Linked DNA regions of Homo sapiens: region 1 is linked to region 2. Evidence: promoter capture Hi-C in 16 types of primary human blood cells and fetal thymus (Javierre and others, 2016). All regions are on one chromosome and are shown on one strand. The core of a region is centred on a gene start or on the middle of the fragment in contact, and the rest is flanking DNA. Distances in the headings are between cores, read along the strand shown. Region 1 holds the start of INTS4 (integrator complex subunit 4). Region 2 holds the start of TNKS1BP1 (tankyrase 1 binding protein 1).

The links. Contacts are between HindIII fragments. The CHiCAGO score rates a contact against its expected background, and 5 or more counts as called.
Region 1: the fragment with the promoter of INTS4 here is called in contact with the fragment with the promoter of TNKS1BP1 in region 2 in 1 of 17 cell types (naive CD8 T cells); the score reaches 6.3 in naive CD8 T cells.

Annotation. Positions count from the first base shown.
Region 1 is chr11:77,993,031-77,995,960 of GRCh38, reverse strand. It overlaps INTS4 (integrator complex subunit 4), which reads left to right and starts at 1,293. Exons shown (of 23, transcript NM_033547.4): 1 at 1,293-1,371. The coding sequence starts at 1,318. RefSeq lists a silencer at 909-978 and an enhancer at 1,179-1,378. The HindIII fragment of the contact is 5,814 bases long and covers 1-2,930 here.
Region 2 is chr11:57,323,318-57,326,658 of GRCh38, reverse strand. It overlaps TNKS1BP1 (tankyrase 1 binding protein 1), which reads left to right and starts at 1,707. Exons shown (of 12, transcript NM_033396.3): 1 at 1,707-1,819. It overlaps SSRP1 (structure specific recognition protein 1), which reads left to right. Exons shown (of 17, transcript NM_003146.3): 17 at 181-671. The coding sequence ends at 252. RefSeq lists enhancers at 541-1,414, 1,444-1,493 and a silencer at 1,624-1,903. The HindIII fragment of the contact is 11,807 bases long and covers 1,140-3,341 here.

The DNA of each region.
Region 1 (2,930 bases), core at 44-2,543, about 21 Mb before region 2:
TCTGTCTTCTCAGATTGTAGGACCTTGAGGATAAATACTATCTTTTGTTTATTTTTGGGTCCTCTGTATCCACCTCAGCCTCCTGCTTTTTTTTTTTTAAACTATCCCACATTAATTCTTTTTTTTTTTTTTTGATAACGGAGTCTCGCTCAGTCGCCCAGGCTGGAGTGCAGTGGCGCGATCTCGGCTCACTGCAACCTCCGCTTCCCATGTTCAAGTGATTCTTCTGCCTCAACCTCCCAAGAAACTGGGATTACAGGCGTGTGCCACCATGCCCCGACTAATTTTTGTATTTTTAGTAGAGACGGGGTTTCCCCATGTTGGCCAGGCTGGTCTCGAACTCCTGACCTCAAGTGATCCATCCGCCTCGGCCTGCCAAAGTATTGGGATTACAGGCATGAGCCACCGCGCCTGGCCCACATTCTTTTGAAAGACCAAAATAATGAACAGCTAGTTTCATGTAGGTTGTAAAACTTGACCTTGGATTTACTGACACTAACATGTGCACTACACCTTACAGTCCGTAAAATGTTCCTGCATTATTTCACTCCATTGTCACATCTTTGTCAGGTTAGTTATTATAAATGCATTTGTAGTTGAGCCATTTGCTCAAGAACCAGAGCTGTAGTCTGTAGCTTTGTTGCTTTATCCTTGGTCTCAGAAGTCTTCTACTGTACTATAGCTATCAGAGCAGGGATTGATGCCTTAAAGGATGGCAGCTTTTGCAAAACTGGAATAAGGAAGTATGGAAAGGCACCCCAAAACAAGAGAGGTGGCGCACAGCTTGAACAAAGGCAGTGCTCAGGAAACCTACAAACAGCATCGTGTACAGCAAAGGATGATGGGAAAGTCAGCCGAGCCTCTGAGTTTTTTCACGAGTCGTAAACCCCTTACAGAGCTCCGGGTTTTGCCTCTAGCTCTGGAGCACCCCGCCTCTGCCCTTTAACCTGTACTTCCTCCCTCCCTCCCTTCGCGCCGCGCCGCGCTAGTCTCTTAGCCACTCCGAGGCCACCAACCAGCCTCCCAAAGCTCCCATTGGGTTGCCCACCCTTTCAGTCTCAGCTCCTCCCGCCAGAGGCCCCGCCTCCCACAAGCGAAGCTCTTATTTCCGTTCTTCCGGCGTAGGCCGCCAAATCAGTCCGTACAGTGGCGAGGCAGTCGAGCAACAGGAAGCGGTCGCTCTTTCCCCAAATCCCACTGCCTTGTGGGATCTCGGCAAGTCATCCACCCACCCCCCGCGCCTACGCAAGTTTTCCGGATCCGTCCACCCCCGCCTCCCTCCTAGTGTACGGAAGCTGAGAGGGCCCGCGGGTAGGCATGGCGGCGCACCTTAAGAAGCGGGTTTATGAGGAATTCACGAAAGTGGTTCAGGTAAGCTCTGGCGGGAAAGATCCAGAACCGATCCGGACCAGGGTAGATTATCCAAATCCCAGGCACTTTGCCGGAACAGAAGAGGCTCCATACGCCCGTGTTAAGTGCTGACTTGTTGATAATCTCTGATATTGCAAGTTAGTGGGCGTGTTAGTTTGCAGCCGCTGTTGTCATTAATATGTGAAGTCTGACAGGATTTTAAAAAAATTATTAGGAGAAACAGTGTTTTTTAATTTACGAAACTGTCTTATCCGTTATTTCATTTTATTCTCTCACACAACTTTGCTCCATCGCGTTACATTAGCATCCTCGTTTTCCAGATGTGGACATTGAGCCTTCCGGAGGGGTACGAGGATACAGCCAGTTAGCAGCAGAGCCCCTTCTAGCCTCCCCGCACCCCCGTTCCAAAAAAAAACCTCCCAGGGACCAGTTGGAATATACACAAGGTTCTAAGGGGCTGAAAGAAGGGTCTATAGAATTCCTTCAGGCGCAGTCTAAGCAGGCGGGGGTCACAGACTTCATAGGGGAAGAGCTCTCTATTGGTAGAACAGCTCACCTAGGAAGGAGGGCAGTACCTTCCTCACCATGAAGTTGTGACAGGTGGGCAGAGTCCCTGTCGGGAGTCAGTGATGCTCCATGTGTCTCCACGTAGATGTTGCTAGGGTTGATCCTAAATCATCCTGATGTCCTATTTCTCAGATATTAATGTGTATACAAATTACCTGGGGACGTTGTTCAAATGTCGATTCTATTTGATAAGTCAAGCAGAGGAGGTGAGGCAAGATTCTGCATTCCTGACATGCCCCCAAATTTACACCAGTGCATTGGTTGCATTCTTAGATCCTTAGACTTGTAGAGTGGCAAGGCTTAGAGCATCCAGCAGGATACTGATCCTTAAACATTACATGGATTCATTCATCCAGCATTAAAATATGTTAATACAAATACAAAATATGTCAATACATAATATAAAATTTACAATTTTAACAATTTTAAGTATAAAGTTCAGTGGCATTAAGAACATTAGCACTGTTGCACAATGTGATTTCCTCTCTTCCCAACATTCTGTTGTTCCCATTTCCCAAGACTGCTCAGCCCTCTTCCACCCATCCTCACATGACCAGATATGCCATGTGTTCTTGTGTTTGCATATCTCAAAACTCTTGCACTGGTTGTCTCTTCTCACAGAATACATGCCATTCTTCCCTTTCTTTTTGTTCTCCACCCAGTGGACTTAACATTTGTGCTTCAAGACCCAAATGAAACCTCAGCGAGAGCTTAGTCTCTTCTTCACCTGTTTCTGTAGCATTCTGTGGTACTAATCTATTTGTACTTTTTGTTCAGTGCTGCTGTCATTACCGGTGTACCTATCTTCCCACCAGTCGGAGGTCCTTGATGGCAGAGCTAATGCCTGGCTCATCTCCGTGTCCTGGAGATGGACAATAGGGCCTGGCTCACTAAAGTGTTATTGGTGGTTGAATGACAGTTGATATTGCTTGTCCTCTCCCTTATATAATACTTAGGGAAAAAATTCCTAGCTTTTGACCTAACTACAGCTT
Region 2 (3,341 bases), core at 458-2,957:
CATGTGTGTCTGTGTGGGGTTGGTCTGTAAGAGTAATGAGTTGGAGTGGATGGTGGAATTCTGAGGTTCTGAAGGGGGGTGCTGTAGTTGGGGGCGGTAGGGAATTGCGGGCCCTTCACTGAAGAGTGGGTGGGGCACCCAGGACTCCAGCTTTTCCCTTAAGACACCTTTGGTTTTCAGGACTCTGAAGAAGAAGAACTAGCCAGTACTCCCCCCAGCTCAGAGGACTCAGCGTCAGGATCCGATGAGTAGAAACGGAGGAAGGTTCTCTTTGCGCTTGCCTTCTCACACCCCCCGACTCCCCACCCATATTTTGGTACCAGTTTCTCCTCATGAAATGCAGTCCCTGGATTCTGTGCCATCTGAACATGCTCTCCTGTTGGTGTGTATGTCACTAGGGCAGTGGGGAGACGTCTTAACTCTGCTGCTTCCCAAGGATGGCTGTTTATAATTTGGGGAGAGATAGGGTGGGAGGCAGGGCAATGCAGGATCCAAATCCTCATCTTACTTTCCCGACCTTAAGGATGTAGCTGCTGCTTGTCCTGTTCAAGTTGCTGGAGCAGGGGTCATGTGAGGCCAGGCCTGTAGCTCCTACCTGGGGCCTATTTCTACTTTCATTTTGTATTTCTGGTCTGTGAAAATGATTTAATAAAGGGAACTGACTTTGGAAACCATGTCCTCATGCTTTCTTTGTAGCCTTGGTGTGTTGCTCCCACTTTTATTGGTGGTGTTTACTGCTCTGGTCAGACTGGGCAGGGCCTTCCTGGCCAGCCGGGAAGCAAGTCTCGAGGTACATCCTGTTCTGTTCCCGGCTGGACGAGCATTGGTTTTCACCCGCCTCTGCCCGGATGGGCCACCTGAGAGTCTAGAAATGAGAGCTGATCTGATTAGGAAGTTTCTCCCAGTTACACTCCATTAGCCAACCAAGCTAGGGGGAGGCAGCTCTTGGCTGCATCCTTACCTATGAGTCAAGGGTCTTCCAAGGCTTTCGATAATGAAATCAGGATTGACTGTCCTTCCCGCAGCCGGGGGAGTGGAAACCTGAGCCTGGAGAGTCGGGGAGGATGAGCGTGTGCGTAGAGTGGTGGTGGTTGCAGCCTGGTGGTGGTGCAACAAAGTACGGAGTTATATGTGAAGCTTTTGTTCTTACGGGAAGAAGGGGGTATACAAACTTCAGTGTAGGGAGGAACCCATGTCTGAGAAGGGGCCTAAAAGGAGATAAAGGTCACTAATGAGGAATGCAGAGCTGCCAGACTTCTTCACGGTGGCTCTAAATCTGAATTGACACAGGAGGGTGGCCACGTTGCGCGCGTTCTCAGCACTCAGGTGGTTGTATCAGGAAGCCGCTTCAGTCAGCCGGCGGCTACCTTCTTGCCGGCGTAGCTCGATGATACTGTGCTCTGTGCAGGCGGCGGAGCCCGGGAGGGGCCGCCAAGGCAGTTTCTCTAGGCAGTCGTCTCGGTGGCCATTTTACCCGAGCGCTCCCGGCTGAATTGCGTCAGTTTCGCCCCGGTCTGAGACTGGGGCGGGCCCCTCATCTGCAAGCCTCATGAATAATTGAGTGCTGGGCCGCGCCTGTTTGCCGACGGTGGGACGAATTCTGCACGGGCTTCCCACTCCCGGGTTCCAACCGGCTCATGCATATTCATGAAGCGCCCTGGGGGCGTGGACCTGGGCGGAGTTGGGGCGGGGCCCCGCCGGGGCTCGCAGTGGCTTCGTCCCGCGGTGACGGCGGCGGCGGCGGCGGTAGCAGCGGCGGCGGCGGCGGGGACTGGCATCGGGGCCCCGAGCCGAGCGGAGCCGGACCCCGGGCGAGCGCGTGAGTGCGCGGGGGCGGTCGGGCGAAGGAGGGGGCGGGGTCCGGGATGGGGCGGGGGAGGGGCATGGAAGGAGTGGGTGCTTTCCAGCCGACACCTCGGGTTGAGGTGGTGGTGGTCGGGGGGTCACCAGGAAAGTTTGCAGGGGCCGAGGGCGCTGGGGACGCTGGAGGCCCGGGGGAAGGTGGCGCGTGTGCGCGGAGGCGGAGGGCGCATGGCTTGGAGCTCGTGCTGGCAGAGCCAGAAGAAAGGGGGGAGGGGGCGAGGGCTTGGGGCGGGGCCGGGGGCGGGCAGAGCCGCTGGAGGGACCCCTGCCTCCCCTTCCTCCGGGCCGCGCTAGCCCCCTCCCCCGGCTCCTTCGGCACGCCCCCAGCCACCCCAGTCCGCCCCCACCTGATCGACGTCTGCAGCCCACCGTCTGTTCGCCGGCTGCTTCACAGCCCGCTCACAGGTCCTCCGCTTCTGCCGCCACCGCAGCCCCCTCCTCCTCCTCCTCTTCGGCTGCCGCCGTCCCTTCTGTGTCCAGAGCTCCCCACTGGGCCCCTCCAGACAGCCCATTGCCCGGGGCTGTTCCATCTTCCCGTTGGCCCTCCCTCTTTCCAGCAGTTTACGTGCTGTCCCTGCCGACCTCTCTAGCCTCGGATCCGGCTGGAGATCCTGGGGTCCATAGGGGCGACCCCGCCTGCGCCGAGTCCCCTCCGGGGCTGGAGCTGCCCAGCCCTTCTGGAGGCCTTATCTGCCAGGGGTCAGCTCGTTTCTACCCTGCTACCCTCTACCCCCTGGTCTCTTGAGGGTGGGGAGTGCTCAGAACCGCTGCGAATCGCAGCTTCTGGCCACAGCCTTGGTGGCCTTGGTCACCTGGGGCCCCTGGCTGGGGTCTCTGAGTTGCTGTGGCCACCTCCGCACCTGGGGACTCTGAGCCCGCCTTCATTGCTGCAGCCCCTCATACCGCAGAGGGGCCCATCAGAACCCCAGGTGAAAGGATTTTTTTGGTTCTGAGCCAATTAATTTCCATCTCCAACCACCCACACTATGTTCCTAGTAATAATGTTCAAGGACAAGGAAACAATCTTGTGTTTTAATTTTATTTTTTCTATCATGTGCCCCTCCCCCCACCACACTTGGCCTGGCTCTGCACAGTTATTCACCCACCCACAGTGGGCAGTCTTCCGTGGTGGTTAACTGACCAATGGGTTGACAGTACTGGGTTTCTCTACTGTCTTCATACCCTCTCCCATCTTTGAAACACCTGGGGCAGGGTCAGCGTTAGGGGAGGGGTGTTGGATTTTGCAGAGGATGAGCACTGGGGGTCCCTTTTAAGGATTTGGTGCTGTCTTCCCAGACCAGCTGGAGTGGGTGACTTTAAGTGAGGCAATGCCCCTTGCAGGTTGGAGAAGTTTGGGTTGTCCTCAGGGCTCTGCATACCAGGTGAGGGAAACTTCCGCCTTGCATGAGAGGTGCAGGGCCCTATCCCCCAGGGTCTCCATGTTTTTGTGGGTGGGAGAGTGCTTCAGGAGTCAGGAT